Linked DNA regions of Homo sapiens: all the other regions are linked to region 6. Evidence: promoter capture Hi-C in 16 types of primary human blood cells and fetal thymus (Javierre and others, 2016). All regions are on one chromosome and are shown on one strand. The core of a region is centred on a gene start or on the middle of the fragment in contact, and the rest is flanking DNA. Distances in the headings are between cores, read along the strand shown. Region 1 overlaps SPAG9 (sperm associated antigen 9). Region 2 overlaps SPAG9 (sperm associated antigen 9). Region 3 overlaps ACSF2 (acyl-CoA synthetase family member 2). Region 4 overlaps SPAG9 (sperm associated antigen 9). Region 5 overlaps SPAG9 (sperm associated antigen 9). Region 6 holds the start of LUC7L3 (LUC7 like 3 pre-mRNA splicing factor). Region 7 overlaps SPAG9 (sperm associated antigen 9).

Region 1 (3,856 bases), core at 1,006-3,505, 310 kb before region 6:
TTACAGACAGGGCCTCACTATGTTGCCCAGGTTGGTCTCAAACTCCTGGCCTCAGGTAATCCTCCTGTCTCAGTCTGCCAAAGTGCAGGGATTATAGGCATGAACCAGCACACCTGGCTTCCACATTGCCTTTGTACATTATGTCTCGCCAGTGTTCCCAGTGTGTAACAGTTCCTCAGTCTTGTCTTGTCTTTCATGACCTTGAGACTTTTGAAGAGTACTGGTTAGTTGTTTTGTAGAATGTCTCTCCCTTTGGGCTTCTCTGATTTCTCATTATTAGATTGAGGTTATGTATTTTTGGCGAGAATATAACAGAATCTAGTATCTTGGTGTGGATATACTTTGAGACTGTGCAGATACCCTGTTTCTGCTCAAACTTTCATTCACTGATTTTAGCATCCACAGTGGATTTTGCCTACAACAATTATTAGTAAAATATTGCTAATAGTTATTTTCTATTTTCTTCATTCTACATTTATTAATTGGAATTCTTCTATCAGGGAGAGTTGTCTTCTTCCCTCCTTCCCTCCAGTCCAGTTTGAATTCAAGGGATATATACATATATTATTCTGTGGGCTATGCGAACCTATCATTTCTTTGGTTTCTCAAATTTTTCTAGCTTTGGACATTGAGAGCTCTTTCAGGTTGGCTCCTGTGCTCTTTTGACATACCCCATCCTTTTTTGAATGCTTTCTTCCTTATTGGCACCATAAGATGCTCTAAGCTGTTGTATTTTCCCTGCCCCACTCTTAAAAATTGGACTACTTCTCAAAGGAGCTCTGGCACATTTTTTGGGAGAAGTGTATTTAGGAACCAAGATCTAGGCATTATTCATTCATTTACTTCTGGTTTGGGTTTTTCCATTAGTTTATACCTCCTTTATAGAATTTTGTATTAGTGTGCCTACTAGGGTAAAATAAAAGTAGAGTTTTAAGAAAAAAATGGATTATGTGTTGTAATATTTCATATTGTTTTGTTTATGACAGTGGATAAGGAATTTGTTCTATAAACTCAATTTTTGCTTATAAGCTTTTTTCCTCACATATATCTTCATGTGATAACTTTAGGAACCACCTATAGGTGACTGTTAGGGTTTGGAAGGAAAAAAAGGGTAAAGATTCTATTGTGTTGTATGTTGACCAAGATGCCTATTATGTATGTTGAGAATAGAAACTGATAAAGATGTAAATAAGCAGCACTTTCAAAATGGCGGTGTTTAAAGCTTGTATTTTAAATGTGACTTCATCTGAGGTAATTGGCACATAGGTATTTATTAATACTTACATTTACTGTTTAAACAGACTTTTAGAATAGGAGAAGTTGTTTAACATTTTCTACTGAAAAAATTACCTTTTTCACTCAAAAAAATTTATTGATGCTCACTGTGTTAGGCACAATGCCATGTACTAGAAATGTTGTTAAGGTGCTCAGAGGTCCAAATATTTTCTAAAAGAGGCCTTTATAATTTCTTTTAAAAAGTTATTTTACTACTCAGGAGGCTGAGGTGAGAAGACTGCTTGAAGCCACGAATTCCAGGTTGCAGTTCACTGTAATGGTACCTGTGAATAGCCACGGCACTTCAGCCTGGGCAATATCGCAAGATCCTGTGTCTAAAAAATTATATTAATTCAGTTTCACAATTTTTAGTAATACTGAAGAATGTGGAGTAGGAATGGGAAGTTTCTTCAACCCTAAATTTCATTTTTTCCCCCAGTCATTGTAAATAGTTGATGTATCCTTGGCCTTTTTCTTTACAGGTGCACATAGATATAATATCTTTTTAAGATAAGTGGGTTTATAAGTGTTTTCCTGCTGCTTGCTTTTTTTTTTTTTTTTCATTTAATGACATAGCTTGACAATCTTTCTACTTTTATATAGAGAGAGCTACCCAAGTTTTTACCTAGTTTTTGATGAAGAGAATGATTAAAGATGATGAGAATCTAGAATCAAAGATCTTATAAATAAACATTAAGTGCTCTTACCACCAAAAAAAGTATGACGTGCTAGATATGTTTATTGGCTTGACTGTGGTGATTGTTTCACAATGTGTATTAAAAAAATCACCTTAACTATATGCTGTATTTGTCAGTTATATCTCAATAAAGCTAGGGGAAAAAAAAAAACCACATCTGTTAAAGAAGAGGCAGTCTGATTCCTACAAAGTGAATCATGCCTTGTTAATCTGTGTATTTTGTATTTTTTATTTTTTTTTGAGATGGAGTTTCGCTCTTGTTGCCCAGGATGTAGTGCAATGGCGTGATCTCGGCTCACTGCAACCTCCTCCTCCTGGGTTCAAGCGATTCTCCTGCCTCAGCCTCCAGAGCAGCTGGGATTACAGGAGCCCGCCACAACGCCCAGCTAGTTTTGTATTTTTAGTAGAGACAAGTTTCTCCATGTTGGTCAGGCTGGCCTTGGACTCCCGACCTCAGGTGATCCACCTGCCTTAGCCTCCCAAAGTGCTGGGATTACAGGTGTGTGCCACTGCGGCCGGCCTAATCTGTGTATTTTTAAGGGCATAACTGAGAGCTAGCAGCCTTTCAAAAAGACTTTGATGAATTTCCAGACCAAGAGTATTTGAAACTGTTGCTTTGTATTTAAGAGAAACACATCCGTCTCATAGAGGGAAAATGTATAGATAGAAATAAAGAATATGAATAAATAGATTTTTATGAAAAAGGATTTGGGACTGGGCACATGGCTCATGCCTGTAATCCCAGCACTTTGGGAGGCCAAGGAAGATGGATCACTTGAGCCCAGGAGTTCAAGACCAGCCTGGGCAACAAGGCGATACCAAATCTCTACTAAAAATACAAAAATTTATCCAGGCATGGTGGGGTACACTTGTAGTCCCAGCTACTTGGGAGGCTGAGGTGGGAGAATCACCTGAATCCTGCGAAGTTGAGGCTGCAGCAAGCCGTGATCGTGTCACTGCACTCCAGCCTGGACGACAGGAGTGAGACCGTGTCTCAAAAAAAATAAGAAAAAGGATTTGGATTTTGGTGATCCTTTGATCATTAGTGTTATCTAACTAATTCAGAAATGATAGAAGGAGGTGTGATAAACATTTCTGAGTATGCTGCACTGGATTATTAGCATGTTAAATAGTCAAAGGGACTGGAATAAACATCAGGAAGATTTCATAAAGTGGTGTAAGTAGAAAAAAAAGGTTAAACAATGAGCTGCATGTTGATAAGTATAAGACACTGATCCAAGTGGTGGCTTCTGAACCATGATATTACTTAAACTAGAGTGTTAAGGTCAGCTTAAGTCAAAATAAAACAAAGCTTCCAAACCCTCATTTTAAACACAGTAGATAATAGATGAATCTTGTATCTTGGGAGATAGTACAAGCCAAAGTTACAGCTGTGTTAAAACCTAGTAAACACATAATTTTTTTCTCTTTTATAATCTTCCCTCTTCCTAGGTCAGCAATAGTCCTGAACCTCAGAAGGCTGTAGAACAGGAGGTGAGAATGGTGCTTCTTAACATTTTGCAAAAAGTATACTAAAGTGATTAACTATTGATTACTTCCTCAACTGCTATTCTCAAGACATCAGATGCTCAGCTTGGAAGACTATTGTTGTAATTCACTGAAATATAAAAGAAAATTATTTCCACTGTAGTGGTTGTCAGGGCTTTACTGCAATCTGTAATTTATTCCTTCCCCAAAGTAAGCATTTTTAAATAAAGGAAAGAAAATATAAGTAAATTCTGTGAAATTCAGCCTGTTTGCATTTATCCAGCTCTATGTAATGGTATACTTTCCAGAAATACCTTCTTCAGGGCATAATGTATGTAACTTGTATTTGTCCTGAATGTGGCCTAGTGTGTCATCTTACAGTGGACTGCTTCCTTA
Region 2 (4,204 bases), core at 571-3,070, 270 kb before region 6:
CTGTCGCCAAAAAAAAAAAATAATGGTGATGGCTACACAATGTTATAAATATTAATGCCAATATTGTAAATATTAGTGCCACTGAATTGTACACTTTTAAATGGTTAAAGTGGCAAATTTTGTTTATATATATATTATTTTTACTGCAATAAAAGTTTTTAGTGTGATATAAATAAAACAATTTTCTAAATTAAAAAATGAGATTTATTTTTATATTGTAAATATTTTTATATTATAAATGCTTAGTTTTTAATGTTTTACTAATATCTTAATCAACCTATATACTTGGGGCATTTAATTTTTAACAGTAATGGATAGAAGCTTATACTTCAAGTAGTAGCAGTAGTCTTGATGATTTAAAAGAATTTTTTTTTGGCTGATGTTGTCAGATATAATAGATTGTTTTTAACCTGTGGCTGCTGAGGAGCTCACTAAGAACAGAAGCTGGCTAGGCGTGGTGGCTCGCACCTGTAATCCTAGGACTTGTCTGAGGTTGGTGGATCCCTTGAGGCCAGGAGTTCAAGACCAGCCTGACCAACATACCGAAACCCTGTCTCTACCAAAAATACAAAAATTAGCCAGGCGTGGTGGCTCACACCGGTAGTCCCAGCTACTCAGGAGGCTGAGGCAGGAGAATCACTTAAGCCAAGGAGGCGGAGGTTGCAGTGAGCTGAATCATGCCACTGTACTCCAGCCTGGGCGACAGAGTAAGACTCTGTCTCAAAAAAAAAAAAAAAAAAGTTTATTTTCTGACATTTTTATGTTTATTTGCACTTGTGTTAATAGAAGTATTTTCTTAATTTTTTAAGTTACCTTCCCATATTGTGAAGATTTGTTTATGTAAATTTAATGCTACCTGTATTCAACTACCTGTACATCTCACCTGCATAACTCTCATTTCAAACCTGTAATTGTTTTAGTAAAAAAAATGTTATTTATAGAAGTTTACTTTGCTGTTACAAGAAGATTTATTTTTCAGGTGCACGAGAAACAGACTACCCTGCAGGAGAAGATCTTTCAGAATCTGGTCAGGTAGACAAAGCATCTTTATGTGGAAGTATGACAAGCAACAGCTCAGCAGAGACAGACAGCCTGTTAGGAGGCATCACAGTGGTTGGTTGTTCTGCAGAAGGTGTGACGGGAGCTGCCACTTCCCCTAGTACAAATGGTGCTTCTCCAGTGATGGATAAACCACCAGGTATATCCATTCTCTTTACCTGCCATCTGTATAGAGTCTAAGGCTACACTCAGATGCCTCATTATGGACTTAATTTAGATCTTAAGTAACAAGGTTGAAAGAACTTGAAAGAAGATACTGTAGGCCGGGCGTGGTGGCTCACGCCTGTAATCCCAGCACTCTGGGAGGCCAAGGCGGGTGGATCACGAGGTCAGGAGATCAAGACCATCCTGGCTAACACAGTGAAACCCTGTCTGTACTAAAAAGTACAAAAAATTAACCGGGCGTGGTGGCGGGTGCCTGTAGTCCCAGCTACTCGGGAGGCTGAGGCAGGAGAATGGCGTGAACCTGGGAGGTGGAGCTTGCAGTGAGCCAAGATCACGCCGCCGCACTCCAGCCTGGGCAACAGAGCAAGACTCTGTCTCAAAAAAAAAAAAAATGCTGTAATGACTGTTAAATGGAATGAAGAATTCTTAATTTCATGGTACAGTGTGAAGGAGTGGGTAGATGGAATGGAATTCTATAACAGGGGTTTGTGTGGGGAAATAATTGGAGGAGAAAAGCCCAGACTTGGAATAGTGTTTTATTTACTTTGTAGAAATGGAAGCAGAAAATAGTGAGGTTGATGAAAATGTTCCAACAGCAGAAGAAGCAACTGAAGCTACAGAAGGGAATGCGGGGTCAGCTGAAGACACAGTGGACATCTCCCAAACTGGCGTCTACACAGAGCATGTCTTTACAGATCCTTTGGGAGTTCAGATCCCAGAAGACCTCTCCCCAGTGTATCAGTCGAGGTATAATAATGGGTCATCAACTTAGGCAACTGGGTGAAGTGCACAAATAAAAGGAACCAAAATAATCTCAAACAGTCAAAAGATTTCCACTAATTAGTGTCACTGTGGTGGATTAAAAGATACCTATTCTTGTGATAATTTCATGTATTCCCGCTCCATCATTCTCGCTGGATATTCCCCCCCATTTCTTCTGTACACCTTCCAATTTAAAAAAAAAATCTTATCTATAAAAGTATAATCATGCATCAGTCAACAATGGGGATATGTTCTGAGAAATGTGTCATTAGGTGATTTCATCATTGTGTGAACATCATAGAGTGCATTTACACAAATCTAGATGGTATGGCTTATCACACACCTAGGCCATATGGTATAGCCCATTGCTCCTAGGCTAGAAACCTGTACAGCATGTTACTGTACTGAATACTGTAGATAATTGGAACATAACGGTAAGTATTTGTGTATGTAAACATGCACAAGGTACTGTAGAAATATAGTAGTATAATCTTGTGGAACCACCACCATATATTCTGTCCATCATTTTCCAAAATGGTTTTACCAGGTGTGTGACTATATATTAGTCAAAATCTTTCTGTTCATTTTCTCCTCTGATCTGTTTTTTTTTCTTTTTTTTTGTACTTACTGTCTTCCATTCTATAAGTAATTCTTTGTCATTTTAATCCCACCCCTACTCTAATTTTCACTCCAGTTATCAGCAAAATTGGCCATTGTTTAAATCTGCCATTGTACAAGTTTCCCACATGGGTGTGGATGACCTTTTTGAATTTAGTTTTCATGCAAATATTTTATTAAAAAACAACTCAGATAGTTCCAGTGGCTCATGCCTATAATCCCAGCACTTTGGGAGTCTGAGCAGGAGGATTGCTTGAGTCCAGGAGTTCAAGACCAACCTGAGCAACATAGTGAGACCCTCATCTCTACAAAAAACTTAATGATTCGCTGGGCGTGGTAGCGTGCACCTATGGTCCCAGCTACTCAGGAGGCTGAGGTGGGAGGATTGCTTGAGCCCTGGGAGCTGGAGGCTACAGTGGGCCATGATATCACCACTGCACTGCCGCCTGGGAAACAGAACAAGACTCTGTCTCAGAAAACAAACAAACCAAAGAAAACTGTTTGTTTTAGGCTCCTCCGTTAAAGGGTTGGTTAATCTAGGCCCATTTAGTGAATTATTTTATTTTCTTTCCTGCCTTTTCTAGATCCCCTCTAGATGAGAGTCTCTTTAAACTAGATCCTTTTTAAAGTTTAATATTCTTAGTGTATAAAGTAAGAAAGATTAATTAATAACCCATTTATGCCTAGTGGTCCATTATTGGAATGCTAAGCTTGTGGGAGTTATTCATATCCTACTGCTCAAGGTCATCGCTAAGGTCTGATTTTTTACAAAAAAAATTTGCAACCTCCGGCATAAATGGGTTAATATTTAATTCTTTTTTTTTTTTGGAGATGGAATCTCACCCTGTCACCCAGGCTGGAGTGCAGCAGTGCAATCTCAGCTCACTGCAACCTCCGCCTTCCAGGTTCAAGCGATTCTCCTGCCTCAGCCTCCCAGGTAGCTGGGATTGAAGGCATGTGCTGCCACACCCAGCTAATTTTTGTATTTTTAGTAGAGATGGGGTTTTATCATGTTGGCTAGGCTGGTCTTGAACTCCTGGCCTCAAGAAATCCACCCACCTCACCCTCCCAAAGTGCTGGGATTATAGGCGTGAGCCACCGCACCTGGCCTGAATTATTAATTTAAGAATAAGTCATGTTTGAATTTGATAGCCTGGTTATATATCTTTTACTAAATATGCCCTGACAATTCAAAGGAAAGGTTTTGTGATAGAATATTAAACATATTTCAGTTTATTAATTTATTTTAGGTCATTCTTTATATTTCTCCCTACTATTTGTATGTGTGTATCCCTCCCTTCTCTCTCACTTGAGAAGAAACTATGACAAAACCCAAAATAAGAGACAGCCATAGTAATTGTCTGAATATTAACTGCTGTATTTCATTACCATGTCTTATTATCTTTTCTGCTCCTTGGGCTTCCTAGTTTGTTAATGTTATTTCTGGTACAATTGTTGAAATATGTGATGTAAGCTTTTGACTTTGGCTTTTCTGGAATTTTGGTGGTTTCTTTTTTTTTTTTTGACTAAAAGTTGAAGCCAGGTGTGATAGTGTGTGTGCCTCTAGTCCCTGTTATTCAGGAGGCTGAAGTGGAAAGAT
Region 3 (3,849 bases), core at 1,314-3,813, 290 kb after region 6:
ATAGGGATATCGTTACCAAATCATTCATAAATCATGTTTTGGAAATTATGGGAAGAGTCTATTTCTTGTAACTATTTATGGTTACCACCCATAACACTTCCAGGCTTAATACAAGGCGCTTGTATAGAAACAGCATTTTGTAGTTTTCCATGTGTGTGTAAACTGTTGGTCACAAGAACAGAAAAATAGCTCAGCAGCTGTCTGAGCTATGTGATGTATGCAAAATGTGTCAAGCCCAGAGAGACATGAGACTTCAGTCATGCTCCTTCCTTCCCAGGGACAATTGTTTAAAGGCATTTTGCTCCTAACTAGCTGCTTTACCCATTACTTTCATGTTAACAAAATTTGTGATACAAAGAACAAAGTATAATGAATCAATAGCTTATATCATTTTAATGTACATTCTTGGTAAATCACTTAGGAACTGTCTCTTCTTTTCATTTATTTATTTATTTAGAGACAGAGTCTCGCTCTGTCGCCCAGGTTGGAGTGCAGTGGCACAATCTCGGCTCACTGCAACCTTCTCCTCCCGGGTTTAAGCGATTCTCCTGCCTCAGCCTCCCAAGTAGCTGAAACTACAGGCGCCCGCCACCATGCCCAGCTAATTTTGTATTTTTAGTAGAGACAGGGTTTCACCATATTGGCCAGGCTGGTCTCGAACTCCTGACCTTGTGATCTGCCTGCCTCGGCCTCCCAAAGTGCCGGGATTACAGGTGTGAGCCACTGCACCCAGCCTTCTTTTCTTTTAAAAACCCACTTGTAACTGCTGCTCATCAGATCATATAATCAGGGCAACTTGAGTCTATGCTCCCGGTTGCAGTCTGCAAACATGGCCCAAATAAATCTCTCTACTTATATTACTTTGGCCTCAGATTTTTCCCTTAGGTCCACAGTCTTATATGATCATAGCCATCCCCATGGAGGGTGGTCCACAAAGCCCCCTTACCCCTCTGTCCCCACCATCAGCACCAAGTCACTGGATCCCCAGCTCTGAGCACCACACCTAATTCTGAGAGGCTTTAGCCACTGATCTCTCTGCCTTCCCAGCTCTGAGTGTTCTCAACACCCTGGATGCAGCTGCCTCATAGGCAGCCCCAGGCCAGCTTTAGGGCAGGTCTGGGGGAAGCCTGCTCAGCCCAGGTTTCTCCTTGAATTCCTTCCTTGGAGGTTCACTGAAGCCCCAGACTAAGCCATCCACCTTCTTTGGGGAAGGAGGCACATAGATAGGGGGAAGGAGTTGGTCGTGAGGAGTTCTGGAGAGCAAAGGACAGCTTTTTCTTTCCTTCTGGGGAGAAAGACTCTGGGCCGGGCGTGGTGGCTCACGCCTGTAATCCCAGCACTTTAGGAGGCTGAGGCAGGTGGATTACTTGAGTTCAGGAGTTTGAGACTAGTCTGACCAACATGGTGAAACCCCATCTCCACTAAAAATACAAAATTAGCTGGGCGGGTGGCGCACACCGGTAATCCCAGCTACTTGGGAGGCTGAGGCAGGAGAACTGCTTGAACCCAGGAGGCGGAGGTTACAGTGACCTGAGATCATGCCATTGCACTCCAGCCTGGGGCAACAAGAGCGAAATTCCACCTCAAATAAAAAAAAAAGAAAAAGAGAAAGACTCTGAACAGCCCTGCGTCAAACGGAGAGGAGGACGTCCAGCAGACCCAAGGACTGGACATGTAGCTGGGTGGAAGTCACCATCTTGGCAATCAGCTAGGAGAAATAATTGGGTTCCAGAAAGAGGCCACCAATCAGGGGATCCTCTCCTACTTTCAAATCAGTCAGAATTCCCACCCAGACACCAGTCAAGGGTTTCCAGGGATCAGCCCTGCCTCAAAGGAAAGGCTGAGAACAAGAGCAAGCTTGTTTTATTCATCAGCCCAACAACACAGCAAGAAGGTAGTAAGTAATGAACTAACTAGCTCAGAGGTTAGATAACATGCCCGAGGTCATACAACCAACAGGGAGAGGACCCAGGGCTGTCATCCAGGATAGTCTAACTTCAAAGCCCTTGCTCTTTTCTCTCAGGCAAAACCAGGGTCTGGTAAGTAATAGGCCTGGGTGTTGGGCAACAGGAAAGCAGGCTGTGTGTGAGCAGATCGGAGAAAACAGAGGACGAAAGTCCAAGCGCATTCCTCACCATGGCACTTGCAACACCGAATAGTGCTCACCTTGATTTATTTCTCCTCCTACGAGGCTGCAAGTTCCTGGCAGGGTGAGGACTGAGTTCTGTGGCCTCTATATGCACAGCATGTGCTAGCATGACGCAGAATCTGTTCTCAGGAATGTTTGCTGATGGTTTCAGCCCTGAGGCTTCTTTTTTCATTTTTATTTTTATTTTTTTGAGATGAAGTCTTTCTCTGTCACCCAGACTGGAGTGCAGTGGTGCAATCTCAGCTCAGTGCAACCTCCGCTTCCCAGGTTCAAGTAATTCTCCTGCCTCAGCCTCCCAAGTAGCTGGGATTACAGGCATGTGCCACCACGCCAGGCTAATTTTATATTTTTAGTAGAGATGGGGTTTCTCCATGTTGGCCAGTCTGATCTAACTCCTGACCTCAAGTGATCCGCCCACCTCAGCCTCCCAAAGTGCTGGGATTACAGGCATAAGCCACCATGCTTGGCCTTTATTTTTATTTATTTATTTTTGACATGGAGTCTCCCTCTGTCACCCAGGCTGGAGTGCAGAGGTGCAGTCTTGGCTCACTACAACCACCGCCTCCCAGGTTGGAGCAATTCTCCTGCCTCAGACACCCTAGTAGCTGGTATTACAGGCACATGCCACCACGCCCGGCTGATTTTTGTATTTTTAGTAGAAACGGGGTTTCACCATGTTGGCCAAACCGGTCTCCTGACTTCAAGTGATCTGCCTGCCTGGGCTTCCCAAAGTGCTGGGATTACAGGCATGAGCCACCCACCCAGCCTTTATTTTTATTTTTTGAGTCTAGGTTTTGCTCTGCTGCTCAGGCTAGAGTGCAGTGGCATGATGACGGCTCAATGCAGCCTTGAACTCCTGGGCTCAAGTGATCCTACCACCTCTGCTTTCCAAAGTGCTGAGATTACAGGCATAAACCACCTTGCCTGGCCTGAGCCCTGAGGCTTCTGAAGGGGAAAGTAGGAGAGAAATCAGGTAAAACCATCACAGTCAGACAATAAGGGTGCAGGCACAAGGGAGTGGAAGGGGCAGAAAGAAAGTAGGCCAAACACTCAGAAAATCATCTGTCTGGATAAATGAGTCTCCTCCTGACACAGCAATAAGAATTTCTCTGAAGCTTGGTGCTCTCAGAGGTCCCAGGGCTGTAGCAGGTAAGTGACCTGTTTTGTTTATAGATAAAAAAAAGTCAAAGGTCAGAAATGTTGCCATGTGGCCTGATTTATTACTTATTTATTGGTTTGTTTGTTTGTTTTCTATTGGGCAGCCTCCTGAGCCAGAGTAGGCTGAGAGACTTCCCCTGTGGCCTGATTTAGTGTGATAAAATATGTACACTTTGGGAAGTAACTTTCCTCAGAGTCCTCCCAGCCTGAGGGGGCAGCCATGAGTCCAGAGGAGAGGCTTAAGAGACTAGGGGGTCAGGGGAGGGCCGAACTTGTCTAGGGAGACCCTGGGAAGTAGTGAGTGACTTCCCAGGGTCACTGGGAAGAGGACCCCACTGTCCTCATCTCAATCCCATCTACTGACCAGCCTTGATCCACTTAGTTTTCTCAGCAAATTAGGCAGAGTGATGTTAAGGCATTGCATGCTTTCTAGCATTCAGAAATCAGCAAGTTCAGAAAGTGTGATCTTGGAGTTCTAGCCAAAAAGGAGTCTGCATGTCCCTCCAACTCTTCCTACTTAGCCTTTTTAAAAACAAAAACAA
Region 4 (4,273 bases), core at 313-2,812, 370 kb before region 6:
TTTGTGAATCAGAGAGATTCTCAACTTATTCTTTAGTTTATAGTTTACCTTTACATCGACTCAAAATTTAATGGTGAATTGTAGTTACCTGGGCATGCCATGATCTTTAGACGTTTGCATGTGCTGTGACCTCTGCCTGGAATGTCTTTATCTCAGTAAAGGTTTTAGGCAAACCATTCCTTTTAGAGTAAGCTAAAATGACTTCTCTCTTTTTTAAAAAAATAGTATATATGGCCGGGCACGGTGGCTCACGCCTGTAATCCAGCACTTTGGGAGGCTAAGGCAGGTGGATCACCTGAGGTCAGGAGTTCGAGACCAGCCTGGCCAACATGGTGAAACCTTGTCTCTACTAAAAATACAAAAAATTAGCTGGGCATGGTGGTGGGTGCCTGTAATCCCAGCCACTCGTGAGGCTGAGGCAGGGAGAATTGCTTGAATCTGGTAGGCAGAGGTTGCAGGGAGCCAAGATCATGCCACTGCACTCCAGCCTGGGTCACAGAGCGAGACTCCATATCAAAAAAAAGAAAGTGTGTGTGTGTATGTGTATATATATATATATATATATATATATATATATATATATATATAAAATAAAGTGTATATATATACATATAATAAGTAGATATACACATATATATTATAATTATATATATATAATTTTATTTCAATATTTTTTGGGGAACAGGTAGTTTTTGGTTACATGGATAAGTTCTTTAGTGGTGATTTCCGAGATTTCGGTGCACCTGTCGACTTCTTTTTTGTTTGTTTGTTTTTTTGTTTTTTTGAGACAGAGTTTCACTCTTGTTGCCCAGGCTGGAGTGCAATGGCACAGTCTCACCTCAGTGCAACCTCTACCTCTTGGGTTCAAGTGATTCTCCTGCCTCAGCCTTCCAAGTAGCTGGGATTACAGGTGCCCACCACCAGGCTCAGCTAATTTTTGTATTTTTAGTAGAGACAGGGCTTTACCATGTTGGCTAGGCTGGTCTCGAACTCCTGACCTCAGGTGGTCCACCTGCCTCGGCCTCCCAAAGTGCTAGGATTACAGGCATGAGCCACCGTGCCTGGCCCAACTTCTGTTTTTTTTTTGTGTGTGTGTGTTTTGTTTTGTTTTGTTTTTGAGACAGAATCTCCCTCTGTTGCTCAAGCTGGAGTGCAGTGGCGCAATCTCGCTCACCGCAACCCCTGCCTACCAGGTTCAAGTGATTCTCCTGCCTCAGCCTTCCGAGTAGCTGGGACTACAGGCGGGTGCCACCTCGCCTGGCTAATTTTAGTATTTTTAGTAGATGCGGGGTTGCACCATGTTGGCCAGAGTGGTCTCCATCTCTTGACCACATGACCCACCTGCCTCGGCCTCCCAAAGTGCTGGGATTACAGGCGTGAGCAACTGTGCCCACCTCCCATTTTTTTTTTTGAGACGGAGTCTCACTGTGTTGCCCAGGCTGGAGTGCAGTGGCACGATCTCGGCTCACTGCAAGCTCTGCCGACCAAGTTCATGCCATTCTCCTACCTCAGCCTCCTGAGTAGCTGGGACTACAGGCGCCCGCCACCAAGTCCGCCTAATTTTTTTTGTATTTTTAGTAGAGACGAGGTTTCACCGTGTTAGCCAGGTTGGTCTCGATCTCCTGATCTCGTGATCTGCCCACCTTGGCCTCCCAAAGTACTGAGATTACAGGTGTGAGCCACTGTGTCCAGCCTTGACTTCCCTTTTTTAAAGCAGATTTAGTCACTTCTTCCTCTCTGCTTTCATTATAGCACTTAGCGTGTTACACTGTAAATGTTTATGATACGTCTTTGATGGCTCTCATACAGTGAGTACTCCTATTGGATGGGTGGGCAAAGAGTTTTAGTTTTATATTTAACATGTTATTTTATCTAAGAATAAGTCCTATGAATGACATTACCTAGTTTGTAGTAAATATCATCATGCTGCCTAACTGCCTAGCATTTGGAGAATAGGCATTGTGAATAGGTGTGTGGCTTAACTATTACAACAGCTTTTTCCTAGTCTCTTAACTATGACAAGTTTTTCTTTGACTACAGAGTGACGGACTGGGATGTTTCCTATTTTTGTTATCTCAGTTAGTGTGTTAAGTGGAAATTATAGAAGTAGAAGGCAGACATGTTTCTTTGAAGTAAATCAAGAAGACTTTAAAAAGAGGGTCAGGGCCAGGCATGGTCGCTCATGCCTATAATCCCAGCACTTTGGGAGGCTGAGGCAGGAGGATCGCTTGAGCTCAGGAATTCGAGACCAGGCTGGGCAACATGGTGAGACCTTGTCTCTACTAAAAATAAGAAATAAAAAAAATTTAGCTGGGTATAGTGGCACATGCCTGTAGTCCCAGCTACTCAGAAGGCTGAGGTGGGAGGATCGCTTGAGCCCAGGAAGTCGAGGCTGCAGTGAGCCATGATTGTACCACTTCACTTCCAGCCTGGATGACAGAACAACACCTCATCTCTAAAAAATAAGTAAATGAAAATTAAAAATTAAATTAAACAATAAAGAAGGTCAGCCATGCTTGTACTATACAAACCTAGTAATGAGGTTCAGCAGAACTCATGTGCTACCAGCCCAACTAAGATCTCTGAATGTAGAAGGGAAGCAGAAAGCCCTGAGAACTTTCTTTTTAGTGTAACCCATGCCACTCATTGCCCAAGTATTTTGTTGATAGTATGAAAAGGTTAGGTATAGAGACAAAGAAACTATTCTCATTACTTCCCTTATGCTATACCTCCAGCCTTCATCCAGGAAAAAAGAGGACTCTTACTAGGACCACGAATCCAAACCTTTTTCTGCCAAGAGCTGTATTTTGGCATCTGTTTGAATTTCATGACACCGTCTCTGTTTCTATTCCTGTTTTCTCATTCATAAATTCTTATATCAATGTTTCCCACTTTCACATGATTGCTAATTGCTATATAGAGCTATGCCATTTCTGAAGTATTTTTGTAATTATGAGTGTTCTGCTTTCTGAGCTATTCTACCCTACAGCAACTTCTGTTTATGAGGTTACCTATATTGTCAGGGATATTTCTCAAAACAGTGGCCCAAAACTAGACTATTTGATGGATATTTTTCTTGGATAGCAATTTAGAAACTTCCAGTCACTTGTTACTTTTTCTTGATTCTTGATTATTCTTTGAAAGTTAGTATTACATTTATCCTACTCAGCTTTCAGTGCCCTGTGTAAGCTATTAGGGATGTCTTATCAGAACTGAGGAACTTTTATTTTTGTTGCATATTAGTGATTAGCATTTTATTTTTTATTTTATTATTTTATTTATTTTTTGAGACGGAGTCTCACTCTGTCACCCAGGCTGGAGTGCAGTGGCACCATCTCAGCTCACTACAACTTCTGCCGCCTGGGTTCAAGCAATTTTCCTACCTCAGCCTCCCAAGTAGCTGGGATTACACACACCTGCCACCACGCCCAGCTAACTTTTGTGTTTTTAGTAGAGACTGAGTTTCACCATCTTGGCTAGGCTGGTCTTGAACTCCTGACCACCCACCTTGGCCTCCCAAAGTGCTGGGATTATAGGCATGAGCCTGTAATTTTTGGAGACAGAGTCTTGCTCCATTGCCCAGGCAGGAGTGAAGTGGTGGGATGTCGGCTCATTACAGCCTCCACCTCCTGGGTTCAAGCGATTCTTGTGCCTCAGCCTCCCGAGTAGCTATGACTACAGGTGCATGCCACCATGCCTGGCTAATTTTTTTTTTTTTTATCGTGTTTTCAGTAGAGATGGGGTCTCACCATGTTGCTCAGGCTGGTCTCAGATTCCTAAGCTCTGGCAGTCTGCCCACCTCGGCCTCCCAAAGTGCTAGGATTACAGGAATGAGCCACTGCACATGGCTGTGATTAGCATTTTAAATGAGGATGGCAGCTGTACGTTTCCAAACCAAGACTTAATACACATTTAAAATTGGGATTTTCAGCCGGGTGTGGTGGCTCACACCTGTAATCCCAGCGCTTTGGGAGGCCGACGCAGGCAGATCACCTGAGGTCAGGAGTTTGAGACCAGCCCAGCCAACATACTGAAACCCTGTCTCTACCAAAAATACAAAAATTAGCTGAGTATGGTGATGCATGCCTGATTCAGCTATGGTGATTCAGCTACTCCAGAGGCTGAAGCACGAGAACTGCTTGAACCCAAGAGGTGGAGGTTGCAGTGAGCTGAGATTGCACCACTGCACTCCAGCCTGGGCGACAGAGTGAGACTCTCTGTCTCAAAAAAAAAAAAAAAAAAAAAAAAATGATTTCCAAGAGGATAAAAAATT
Region 5 (4,328 bases), core at 762-3,261, 290 kb before region 6:
TATTTTTGCCATCTCGGAAAGGCTTTATTTCTACTTCATCCGGGTCTCATGCAGACTCAAAGGCACCATCATGTGTTTCCATTTGGTATCCTCATGACTTTTTGTAGTGTTTTCCCTTAAGAGTAAGCTCTGTACATTGCCAGTTAATCTTTTAATGATAATTTTAAAATGTTGTTGCTGTTGTATCATTGATGCAAAAAGACCAACAATAGAAGTACAATACAAGGAAATTCACAACATATTATAGTGGGACAGACTGAGTCACATTTAGGTGATGGTGAGGACGCAGTAGCAGTATATTCATGCACCCAAAGACGTGCAAGCCAAGTAGGATAATATATGGATCATACGGTGAATTTTCTAAGCCCACTGAGGACTTTGTACCTTTTCAAAAATGTCCTGTATACCCTCCAGTTTACAGAATTATCTGTCTTGTCTACTGGCTTCATGGCTAATGTAAACTTTAGAAACTATATTATAGGATTTGTTTTTCCTGTAGCACACATTTCAATTTTTTTCCTTTTTATAAATATTTACACTTCATTGTGTTTAGTTAATGGTTTCTCTACATCTTGTCAATTTCTTTGTTTCCTCTCTCTCATTTTAAAGTAAATGAGTTTAGTTCTTGCTTTCTGAAAACAATCTAATTGAGATTCTCATTCATTTTTCTCTTGGGCTGCTTACGTAGGGGAATATTCTGGTGTGTATGATTTTGAATATTTTAATATTACTGCTTTTTAAGCTAGGTGTTCTTGGCTGCTGTTCTCATCTAATGCTTTCTCATCATTTTTTTCTGCTCAACTATTTTTTTGCCTTTCATATATTTTCAGCTTCCACGCTTATCTAACTGCTTGAGAGTTTATAGCAAACATAGTTACTATATAAACTGTTTTCAACCAGTCTACATTCTTATTTCTTCTGTCTCTATAACTTTGTTAAAAAGTTAACATTCCCAGCCATTGTATCTACAAAGGAATAAAAATTTAGCATTAGTGTTTAAAGCAAATATCTTGCCGAAGATCATTTTGGAGTTAGAATTTGGAAACTTTTTTGGGACTTTTATTTTGTTTTGTTTGGTTTCAGTTTGTAGATAATACATAGGTAGATGATTAATCTATTTCTGATATTTAATTCTTTCTGGTGTAAGTACCCTGATCTTTGAGAAAATTAGAATATAGACAAAATATGAGTCCAGGTACACAGAATATGTAGCATTCCTAGGTTGGCTGTTTTTGTTTTAAGTAATTTTTAAATCATTTGGAAAATTACCTTTTTTAAAATAAAGGGACATGTTAACTCCTTTGTCGTATGTAGTTTTCTTTAGAAAGATTTCTTTCCTGTTTACTTGGGTTATGATTATTACTTCTTCCATTGTATGTGATTTTCCAACATTATTAGCTCACAATTCCTTGAAGATGAGTGACTGGTGGGTTTTTTTTGTTTTGTTTTGTTTTGCTTTGATTTTTTGTTTTTTGAGTGATATTCCCTAGTGTGTTATTTCATTTCTTCAGTTTCTTAGGAAAAGCAAATTAATAGCTTTCTTCTCCCTAAAGACCACTCCATTGGATCTTGCATTGGATGCTCTACGTGCTTATCTCACAGTAGTCATTAAAATGCCAAACACGATCAAAGACATTCACTCAAGTGATAACTGAACATTATTATTTTATAGGTGGCACTTTGAAGGAAAGTTTGTATTGTTAATTGAAGATTTTCAATCTAATTATAGTTAATCTTATTGTGAGAAAGAATTGGTAAAGCATTTTTTAGGTATATCAGCATCCTTATGAATGAAGGAAATCATCTTTATTTCTGTCTTTTGCACATCATTATGCATTAAATCATAACATTGTGATTCCAGATGTTTTTCATATCATGTATAAAACTTTATAGATTAATAATCTGTTTTCATGCTGTTTCTTACGTAAAACATTTCTTGTTCTTTGTTTTTGCTTTACATGGAATGCATGGGCTTTAAGACCATAATTTCTTTGGTAAGGTTTCATCTGCCTTGGGGTTCTATCTTTCTTTAGCCTTGTTTTTGCCTGTTCTCTATTAATAAGGTCTAATTTTTAGGCAAAAGCCTACGAGGTCAGATGTGATTTAGAAACAATTTCGATCCATATTAAAGCTGTTCTTTTTTACCCTATGTAGTGTTGGAATATTAGAATATTTGGCAGAAAAGTCTTGATCCTTTTGAAATATTATCTATGAGAAATATAGACTAACAGATATTAAAAATTGGCCTCATTCCCTAGCAAGCCGATTCAGATTTAAAAAAGAAATAGGCCAACAAAATCTTTAGCCTTGTTCGTAATGAATAATTATTTATAATTTTATAATCTATTAAAGTAGGTCCATCAAATGAAATTATAGACAAAATAAAATTAATAAAGGACAGATAAAATTTCTAAAATAAAACTTGTGACTATAGCTTATATTTTAAATGTATATAATTATTGATGCATTTATTTTCAAAGTCTTTATCTTTTTTCGTTTGATAGGAATGGGTCGGGAAGTTGAGAATCTTATATTAGAAAATACACAACTGTTGGAAACCAAGTAAGTATATGTGAAATTTTAACAGAAGATAAAGAATTTTCTTCTTGTCCAAGTCAATGACACTTCATCGTTTTAACATAATACTAATGGAATCTCCCTGTCCCATCTCGTTCCCCAACTCTGAGTGTGCACACACACACACACACACACACACACACCCTAATGTTGGGACCTACACTGCCCTGTTAGATATGTTCCCTTGCCCTGTTTTTTTGTAGAAACACAGATTGTCATCTCCTTTTCACTCTATAAGTATCCATGCCTTTTTCTTAATCTTCTAAATTTGTCCTGGTTTTACACTTTTTTTGCTCCCTCCCTTAACATTTGTCTGTTTTCTTATCTCTTCTCCTGGGGTTTCTTTTATTTCCACACAAATATTTTCATGTATACTCAGCCTTCCTCTTCAGAGCTGTCTTCCATAGCTGTGCATTCTTGGGTGCAATTTGTGGAGTCTTAAGCCCTCAGACACATTTAATGGGACAGATCCCCAGTCATGTGGAAAAGCTGACTGGGTTCCTTTGTCAGTTTGCTGTGTCAGAGCAACTTTGGAACATCTGTGTATATCCAAGACAGAATGCAGTTATAATAAGGTCCTATGCCCACTATACCCAAAGGAACTGGATATCAGGGTTTTTTCTTCAGCGTAGACTGTCTTAACTTTCCAGTTTAAACTGTTTTCTCATTATTTATTAAAGGTAACATCAAGAAATAATTTTACTTTATTGATTGGGTAATATATTCTGAGGAATTATTAACAATAGTAACCTTTTGAATGCTATTTTTAAAATTTAATCTTCTCACTTTTTAGTAATTGATGATCTGTCTTGTTTTATTCATTTGATAAATGAGTAAAATCTTAGACTGTTGCTTTGTGTTCTTTTTGCATTTATCTACAAACAACATTGGGTAGAATGTCTTGAAGTATTAAATTATTATTGTCTATGGTTGTACAGTTTAGTCTACAAAGGAATAGCTGAAAGATGGAAAGAATATTTATTTGTAATGATGCACTTGAAATATGTGTTTCTTAGAAATGCTTTGAACATAGTGAAGAATGATTTGATAGCAAAAGTGGATGAACTGACCTGTGAGAAAGATGTGCTGCAAGGGGAATTGGAGGCTGTGAAGCAAGCCAAACTGAAACTAGAGGAAAAGAACAGAGAATTGGAGGAAGAGCTTAGGAAGTAAGTTTTAACTGTGTTGTTCTAAACCAAACTCTTTGCCAGTTATGCCACAAAGGGTTACAGATGTAACCCTGAGACTGAGACCTTCTGTCCACTCAAGCCTGGAAGGCCAAGAGCTGCCTGGGAGAGGGCAAAGTGCCCCAGCCCATTGCCTCTGCTGTGAGCAGGCCCCTCCAGTTGTTAGCCTGTCATCTAAATATTATTGTCTTTTGTTTTTTGTTTTCTGTTTTTTTGAGACGGAGTCTCACTCCTGTTGCCCAGGCTGGAGTGAAGTGGCAAAGCCTTGGCTCACTGCAACCTCTGCCTCCCGAGTTCAAGCGATTCTCTTGCCTCAGCCTTCTGAGTAGCTGGGATTGTAGGTGCCTGCCACCACACACAGCTAATTTTTGTACTGTTAGTAGAGACAGGGTTTCGCCATGTTGGCCAAGCTGGTCTTGAACTCCTGACCTCAGGTGATCCACCTGCCTCGGCCTCCCAAAGTGCCGGGATTACAGGCGTGAGCCACTGCACCCGGCCTAAATATTGTTATTTTTTATGTCTATAATGATGCAAAAAGAGTTAGAGACTGTTCAAACATCTTTG
Region 6 (4,157 bases), core at 819-3,318:
ACAATAATTCCACCTATTTAGATGAGACCATGTGCTTTGTTTTTGCTCAACACTACCAACATTTTCCCTGCAGATATCAATCTGAAATGCCAGTAACTGACTTGAAATCCTTCAATCTAGAGTGAAGTGCAATCTGTCATTAAGGCATTAAATACTTTAGTAATAAACACTGAAAGTTAAAATTAGTGAAAAGTACTAAAACTGAAAGCAAAGCAGATTACGGCTGAGATGACATAAAACCTAAATTGCTATTCTGAGGGCCTCATCATTGAAGAGTCATAAACCCATCACATACAATGCAATGTGGCAACAAATTACCCCGGGAAAGAAAACAGTTTCTCTAAAACGTGTTCAAAGTCAAGGGTGCAGAGATACAAGGCTGTTCCAACTGATAAGGAGTGCAATGGAAAGCATTTTTCTCTTGAATTCAAAATATACAAATAACCTATTGAACATAAGCCAAATCGCCATAATGTTTTGGTTTTTTACCTTACTTAGGATTTTGAGCGTTATTCCTAACACATTTGCAAAGTTTAGACTGAAAGGTTACAGAGTCAGGTAGTTAAAAAAAAAAAAAGTTACTTCGCTATAACAAAGATGCCTACAAAAGAAAGATGGTCAAGGTAAGCAGTTCCTTAGTCTCCTATTGTGACAAATGGTCGGGGGGATGGGGAGCCTAAATGTTAAAAACAAAAAACCCACCTCTTAAAAACAATAAATTCTACTCTAAGAATGTTTCATACTACTTTGGAATCAGTTAGCACCCCAACACAACTTGAGCCAAACTTACTCTTTCTTAAAGTCCTAAAAGGAGTCATCTAGCACCAACTTGCTTTCCTACACTGCAAAAAAGAAATTTTACCTTAACCAAAGCCTACGTTTAAAAAGAGTAAGAAAACAGTTTTCTAAAGAAGCATGCATTACCTGAACTATTCCTTCCTATTTTGATTAGCAATTGTTTTAAAATTAGCATGTTAGATTATAACCTCAAAGTAAAATTAAATTCTGTATCTATTCTCCAGATAAGACCTAAAGTAAACATTACACTGCATGTTCAAAACTAGATCAAAACACTTGAAATGCTACAGTAGGTGCAGAGAACCAGTTTCATAGGATTGTGGAAAGCTAACAGAACTACAAAGATTAGTTTCCTCAGTTGCCAAGACTTTGGGTGAGCCTTTTTAAGTCTCACCAGTGAAACTGGGGTTATAATATTTACCTTTACTCCCCGGGCTAAGAGCATCAAATGAGTTTTATGTGGAAGAAAAAACCTTGACAGCTGCCTCTATAAGGGACTTCTTAGAATACTGTTAACGAACAATACTTGTAAATCATCACGGTAAACCCTAACAAGTAAACGACTTCTTTTACATTTCTATTTCCCCGTATAAGCGTCATGCTGTAATTACTTAAATAAAATACCGCCACGATTTTTACCATGAATCCTGGTCAGAAATTTTAGTCTAAATACGACGTTCAACCCAAACTATAGAAAAATGTGCCCTTCTCCCTATTTCATAATGAGGTGAAACCTCGGAGCCGCTAGATTTAATAAGACGCTGCTATCCTTCTTTCCCGCGTTTCCCCGCCTCATCAAGGTGCTTTTCAATTATGCCAAGGGCTCTCCCGGACCCCCTTGATACTAGAACAACAAAACCAAATCACCCCCATCCCCGGGTCCGGACAGCATCCTCCCTCCTGGCTCCATGGGCACCGGGTCAGACGCTCGACCCCGGGTGCGGCCCTGGCCACATCGCGCCGCGGCCAGGAGGGCCACAGCCCGCGCCCGCTCCCCTCCCCCACGGAGCCCGGGCTCAGGCCAAGGCCCGCGGGACTTACGCTCTCGTGGTCCCACCGCACGTTGCTGCGCTTCTCGTCCGGGGCTAGGTTTCGGTCCCGGCCCATTAACTCATCCAACAACTGCGCGGCCGAAATCATGGTGCTTCCTTCGGGCGGCTGTTCCCACCAGCCCAGGCACCCGCCAACGAAAACACGGGCGACACCGTCGCCAATCTCCTCGGCCCGCTCTCAGGCCGAAATCCCTCCTACACACAGGAGCCGACAAGACAAAATGGCCGCCGCGCGGACGCCTTCCCAGCATGCCGTGCGCCCGTGGGACACGCCCAGGCCCGGGCGGAGAGGGCGAGCTCGGCTTCCGCCGTCCGGGGGCGGGGCCCGCGGAGGCCGGGTAGGGACTCCGCCCCTGTCTAGAGGCCGCGGGGACGGGTAGCCTCTGCCCGCGCGCCTCCCCAAGCGCCCGGTTTTCCCGAGCTTCTTCACGGTGAGAAATTGGAGCCTAGGTCTTGAAGCCTGGACACCGCTTCAAAATGGAGAAAGTGTCTCCTTTAGTCCACGTGGTGCACATGGTGCCTCATGCAGCGGAGGAAACTGAAGATTACGGCTTCCGACTCCATTTTCCTAGTCGCTGTGCTCACGCCTCTTGCACCTGGCTTTGTCCTCCCGCCCTGAGTCTCCTGATTAACAGGATGGGAAATCGAGGCAAGAAGAGACAAGGCGGCTTCTAAAATACGGGGATTCAGTCCTACACCAAATGTCTCCCAGTGTGGAATTTTTTAAAAAGATATTGATCCAGTAGGCCAGGTGAGGTGGCTCACGCCTGTAATCACAGCACTTTGGGAGGCCGAAGCGGGCGGATCACCTGAGGTCGGGAGTTCGAGATCAGCCTGACCAACATGGAGAAACCCCGTCTCCACTAAAAATACAAAATTAGGTTGGCGTGGTGGCGCATGCCTGTAATCCCAACTACTCAGGGGGCTGAGGCTGGAGAATCGCTTGAACCCGGGAGGCGGAGGTCGCGGTGAGCCGAGATCGCGCCATTGCACTCCAGTCTGGACAACAAGAGCAAAACTCCATCTCAAAAAAAAAAAAAAAAAAAAAAAAAATATATATATATATATATATATATATACACACACACACACACACACACATACACACACACACACACACATATATATAGATAGGTAGATCCATTTATTCAACAAATGGTATGTGCCAGGCACTGTGCTTAAAGCTAAACTCAGAACCTTTCAGACAGTCCATGCTCCCGCAGACCTGTGCATTGGCGAGGGGAGATAATCGCTGAAGAAATAAAGTCACAAATATATCAACGTATGTTGGGATAATGCTTTAGCACAGTTAAGGGTATGGTCTCTAAAGCCAGATTGCCTGGGTTCGTAATCCCAGCTCTGCCGCTCTGTGCCTTTGTTTCCTTTTCTGTAAAATGGGGTTTACAATAGTCCTCCCCCGGCCCCCAGCCACGATGCTATTGTGAAGATTAAATGAGTTTATACAATGTAAGGCACTACACATTGATAACAAGCCCAACACTTTTATTTTTGGGGGGACTGGGTCTGGCCCTGTCACCCAGGCTGGAGTGCAATGGCACGATCTCAGCTCACTGCAGCTTCAACCTCCCGGGCTCAGGCGACCCCCTCGCCTCAACCTCCCCAGTAGCTGGGACTACAGGCGCATGCCACCACGCCCGGCTAAGTTTTTGTATTTTTGGTAGAGACGGGGTTTCGCCAAGTTGCCCAGGCTGGTCTTGAACTCCTGAGCTCAAATAATCCACCCACCTCAGCCTCCCAAAGTGTTGGGATTACAGGCGTGAACCACCGCGCCCGGTCGTGGACACCTCTTTTTAAGAAGGAAAGCAGCAAAATAGGGTGAGAACTCAAAGGAGGTATGGGACATGAAGCCTTTTTTTTTTTTTTTTTTTTTTTTTGAGCTATCGCTCAGGCTGGAGTGCAGTGGTACCATCTTGGCTCACTGCAACCTCTGCCTCCCGGGTTCAAGTTTATCCTGCCGCAGCCTCCTGAGTAGCTGGGATTACAAGCACCCGCCACCACGCCCAGCTAATTTTTGTACTTTTAGTAGAGACGGAGTTTCGCCATGTTGGCCAGGCTGATCTCAAACTCCTGACCTCAGGTGATCCACCTGCCTCGACCTCCCAAAGTTCCCAAAGTGCTGGGATTACAGGCGTGAGCCACCAAGTGGGGCTGGAGCCTTTTTGAAGATAGGAAATTAGAGGCTAGACATGGTGGCTCACGCCATAATCCCACTACTTTAGGGAGGCAGAGGCAGGGAGATAGCTTGAGGCCAGGAGTTTAAGACCTGCCTGGGCAACATAACAAGAC
Region 7 (3,776 bases), core at 134-2,633, 340 kb before region 6:
CTGTGGGGATGGGAAGCAAAGAGTGTTGTGACTTGACAATCAGATCCAGAAAAGTCTTACAGACCATTGTAAGAATTTTTTTTTCCTTTTAAAAATGAGATCGGAAGCTTTGAAGTTTTGAGCGGTTAGTCACTGTTTGATTCCATCTCTATTTTGAGAATGTAGGGAACAAAGACTAAGTAGAGAAACTAGTCAGGAGACTAGGATTATTATTGTAATAACCTAAGCAAGAGATGATGTCTTGGGTCAAAGTGAGAGTGATGAAGGTGGTAAAAGTGGTGAGATTCTGGTTTTTGGTTTGTTTGTTTGTTTGTTTGTTTGTTTTTTGAGATGGAGTCACACTCTGTCGCCAGGCTGGAGTTGCAGTGGCGCAATCTTGTCTCACTGCAACCTCTGCCTCACTGCAACCTCTGCCTCCTGGGTTCAAGCGATTCTCCTGCCTCAGCCTCCCAAGTAGCTGGAATTATAGGCATGCACCACCACGCCCAGCTAGTTTTTGTATTTTTAGTAGAGATGGGGTTTCACCATGTTGGCCAGGCTGTTCTCGAACTTCTGACCTTGTGATCCGCCCACCTCGGCTCTCAAAGTGCTGGGATTACAGGCGTGACCCACCAAATTTTCTTTATCCAGTCTATTCGGTAACATTTTTGTTCTCTCCCTGAGAATGCTACAGTCAGAGCAATAAAGCTTGTTTGTTATGGTTCTGAATAGTTTGTTTAAATCCCATTCTACATGTTGAACTCATAGCCATTGTAGGATAACATAAGGAAGAATGAGTATTCAAGCAGAGGAAAGTGCCTGTGTGAATGGATGCACATCGTGTTTGAACTGAGGTGGGCTGGGGCTATACAGGCATAAATACATCAGATCACTGACTCCTCCCCAGAGGTAACTACTATCCTGACTTGTAACATTTCAGATTAGTTTTGTGTTATGTCTTTGAATTTTGTATTCTTTTGTTTCTGCTTCTTTCCTTCAATATCATATTTGTGCTATTGGTCCATGATGTTGTGTGTGGCAATAATTTGTTTATTCACGTTGTACAGTATTCCAGTACATGAATATTTATCCATTCTACTCTTGATGGACAGTTGGATTGTTTTCAGATTGTGCTTCTTTGAACATTGTTTTAAATACCTTTGGGTGGACATATATATAGGCTTTCTAGCAATGACATTGTTTTGTGATAGGGTTGGCAAACATTCGAAACTTAACTAAATCTTGCCAAACAGTTCTTAAATTGGGCATACCAAGTTACGGTGTATGAAACCATACACCACAGTTTATGAAAGTTCCAGTAGTTCCACATCCATACTGGCACTTGGTGTGTTGTGTTTTTCACTGTAGCCATTCAGAAGCATGGTGGTGTTGCATTTTGGTTTTAATGTGCATCTCCCTGACTTGGGTACACATTTTGCTTGGCAGTTTGATGCCCTTTGTATCAAAGTATCTGTGAATGGGTTGTTTCTGTAAGAACAGAGGAGTTTTTTGTTTGAAGCATACTCCCCTCTGCCCAAAGTGATATCTTAAAGTAAACTCCAATATACAAAACAGATTAAAATGAGTATTTGCTGAGAAGCAGTATAGCATGGTAATTAAGAACACAGATTCTGGAGCCAGATTCTGATAGGAATCCTTGCTTTGCCATTTTCTATCTGTGTGACTTTGGGCAAGTTACTTAGCTCCTATTTGCTTCAGTTTCCTCATCTCTACCATGGATGTAATAATAATACTTTCATCGTAAGGTTAATGTTAGGCTCAAATAAGTTAGTTTATATGCAGTTCTTAGGACTGTATGGTACATAGTAAGCACTTGATGTTGTTGGCTGCTATTAGTAGTGGTGGTGTTGGTGATACAAATTTATTTATGAATTTATATCAGCTGACAAGAATAATAAGGCTCTACTATTGAGCACAAATTTGAAATTGAGGATTATGAATGATAGTTGGATTTTATTTCAGCCTCAGCATCCAATTTTTGTTTTTGTTGCACATTATCAAGAAAATAATGATTCAAAAAGATGAACAATTGAAAATAGATATGGTTTGTCCAGTAGTCTCAGAATTCCTTTAAGCTTTTAATCAGTTTAAATGACAAGTAGTAGAAAATGTTTATTTTGAAATTATTAAATATCCATAATTTGCTTGGATTTCCTGTTTTTAAATAAAAATCATAGAATTAAATTTTATTAAAAATTAATTTGTGGTTTTAGCATCTATTATTTTATCACAACACATCTGCATAATAAATTTGCTTATTATCGCTTTCAGCCACAGGATAAGATGAGCAGCAGATGTATTCAACACTTGTGTGGCATGATAAAATGTGCTCCGTGGGTACTGTAGTGTGTGTTTGCTCTCTGGTGCAAATGTAATGAGCCAGCGACACATAAGCTTGAATTAGAAACAAATCAAAACAAAGACAGCTACAGTTTTCCTAATCACATATTTTCAAGATATTTAAACAAATTATGGCAAGTAAAGGTACACAAACCCAAAATGAATTTTCTGGGCAGCACAAGGTATGTTTTGTTTGGTGTCTGGTGTGTTAATACTAGGAGGCATATAAAACATTCATTTATCTGCTGTCAGAATATTAGTTCATACTAGTTCCTTCTACAGCTGTCCTCCACAGTCACCAGTTGTAGATTACACACAGCCTTGCCTGTTTGCGGCCAGCTGACCCTTAAACCCAGGGAACATTTTCAACTATGCTAAGGCTTTCCAACAGACTAAATGAGTACCCTGATAAACTCCTCTAGCACCAGCTTTATTTCTCCCCAGACTGTCTCCCACTGCTCCTTAGCCAAGTATGGGCTCCTCCAGTCTGGCCAGTCTCCCCTCTGCCTCACCACCACCCTCTGCCTCACCACAGGCATGGTTTTGTGTTCCCTTCTCTGTGGTAACAGTGTCAGGAATGCTCTCATTACCATCTGTCTTGAGTACTGTAATTTCTTCCTTTGTGGTTCTGTGTGGACACCACCTCCTCCCTGAATCATTCCTCTTTGCTATCAGTTATTCTTTCCTGTGGAATCCTGTCCTGACATTCTGTATCTCAGGATCTATTAATAAAACTTTTTTTTTTTAAATATCCTGAAGTTGTACTCTGTGAGCACTACCTCAAGTCAGTGCCACTCACAAAACCCATCAGCAGAGGGAGCTAAATAAAAGAAGATGAGTCCCTGAAATTGAGGAGACCTGAAGCAGAAAAAGTACTTATAAACAATCAACTTTCACAAACTGCCAGTGCTAAAGAGCTTGAGTAGTGTTGGAAATACATTATTTGGGCCCTAATCCCAGTTTAAAACTTTGATGAGGTGATTTGTGTTTTTGAAAGAGTTAATTCTGTATCATGTTAAAAAAAAAACTGTTTAGGGGGATGACCTGATAAATATAGGAATATTAGAGAACCAATCTAAGGTATTCCGCTCGTCTGAAAGTTTTCATTATTAAGGATAATGAAATGAGGTCACTGCTTTGTGAAGACTTGCATATGGAACACTGAGTCTGAAAGTTGCTAAGGATTATGGATAGCCCATTCTGAGTCTAACATGTACTTTTTCAAGTAAATTTCTTATTTTGTTTTGATCAAGTGTATGTATCTTAATTTCAGTTAGCAGACTTGAAGAAAGAGAAGCAGAACTGAAGAAGGAATATAATGCATTACATCAAAGACACACTGAGGTGGGTTTCTAGGTTTTTCATTACCATGCTATTATTGAGACAAAGAAATGAACCTTAGAAAATATGTCTTAATTTTTCTTTGAAAATCAGAA

The links. The method cuts DNA at HindIII sites, captures the fragments that hold promoters and counts their contacts. A CHiCAGO score of 5 or more calls a contact.
Region 1: a contact is called between a fragment that was not itself captured here and the fragment with the promoter of LUC7L3 in region 6, in 1 of 17 cell types (naive CD8 T cells). The highest score is 6.1, in naive CD8 T cells.
Region 2: a contact is called between a fragment that was not itself captured here and the fragment with the promoter of LUC7L3 in region 6, in 3 of 17 cell types (total CD4 T cells, M2 macrophages and M1 macrophages). The highest score is 6.6, in total CD4 T cells.
Region 3: a contact is called between a fragment that was not itself captured here and the fragment with the promoter of LUC7L3 in region 6, in 1 of 17 cell types (endothelial precursors). The highest score is 5.6, in endothelial precursors.
Region 4: a contact is called between a fragment that was not itself captured here and the fragment with the promoter of LUC7L3 in region 6, in 1 of 17 cell types (monocytes). The highest score is 6.1, in monocytes.
Region 5: a contact is called between a fragment that was not itself captured here and the fragment with the promoter of LUC7L3 in region 6, in 1 of 17 cell types (total CD4 T cells). The highest score is 6.0, in total CD4 T cells.
Region 7: a fragment that was not itself captured here is called in contact with the fragment with the promoter of LUC7L3 in region 6 in 1 of 17 cell types (M2 macrophages); the score reaches 5.0 in M2 macrophages.

The regions. Positions count from the first base shown.
Region 1 is chr17:51,031,291-51,035,146 of GRCh38, reverse strand. SPAG9 (sperm associated antigen 9) reads left to right here. Exons shown (of 30, transcript NM_001130528.3): 6 at 3,425-3,466. Among named protein-coding and RNA genes, the nearest start is that of SPAG9, 88 kb to the left of the region's middle. The HindIII fragment of the contact is 2,062 bases long and covers 1,225-3,286 here.
Region 2 is chr17:50,987,444-50,991,647 of GRCh38, reverse strand. It overlaps SPAG9 (sperm associated antigen 9), which reads left to right. Exons shown (of 30, transcript NM_001130528.3): 20 at 980-1,198; 21 at 1,776-1,971. Among named protein-coding and RNA genes, the nearest start is that of TOB1-AS1, 120 kb to the right of the region's middle. The HindIII fragment of the contact is 2,993 bases long and covers 324-3,316 here.
Region 3 is chr17:50,427,272-50,431,120 of GRCh38, reverse strand. All of the region lies in intron 1 of ACSF2 (acyl-CoA synthetase family member 2), which reads right to left. Among named protein-coding and RNA genes, the nearest start is that of ACSF2, 3.0 kb to the right of the region's middle. The HindIII fragment of the contact is 1,407 bases long and covers 1,860-3,266 here.
Region 4 is chr17:51,085,936-51,090,208 of GRCh38, reverse strand. The region is part of intron 1 of SPAG9 (sperm associated antigen 9); the gene reads left to right. Among named protein-coding and RNA genes, the nearest start is that of SPAG9, 33 kb to the left of the region's middle. The HindIII fragment of the contact is 6,447 bases long and covers 1-4,273 here.
Region 5 is chr17:51,005,503-51,009,830 of GRCh38, reverse strand. SPAG9 (sperm associated antigen 9) reads left to right here. Exons shown (of 30, transcript NM_001130528.3): 10 at 2,505-2,562; 11 at 3,594-3,746. Among named protein-coding and RNA genes, the nearest start is that of SPAG9, 110 kb to the left of the region's middle. The HindIII fragment of the contact is 5,368 bases long and covers 1-4,328 here.
Region 6 is chr17:50,717,514-50,721,670 of GRCh38, reverse strand. LUC7L3 (LUC7 like 3 pre-mRNA splicing factor) reads right to left here and starts at 2,068. Exons shown (of 10, transcript NM_016424.5): 1 at 1,840-2,068. The coding sequence starts at 1,938. RefSeq lists silencers at 1,732-1,791, 2,132-2,361 and an enhancer at 1,962-2,101. The HindIII fragment of the contact is 10,215 bases long and covers 1-4,157 here.
Region 7 is chr17:51,056,320-51,060,095 of GRCh38, reverse strand. SPAG9 (sperm associated antigen 9) reads left to right here. Exons shown (of 30, transcript NM_001130528.3): 3 at 3,614-3,684. Among named protein-coding and RNA genes, the nearest start is that of SPAG9, 63 kb to the left of the region's middle. The HindIII fragment of the contact is 1,388 bases long and covers 690-2,077 here.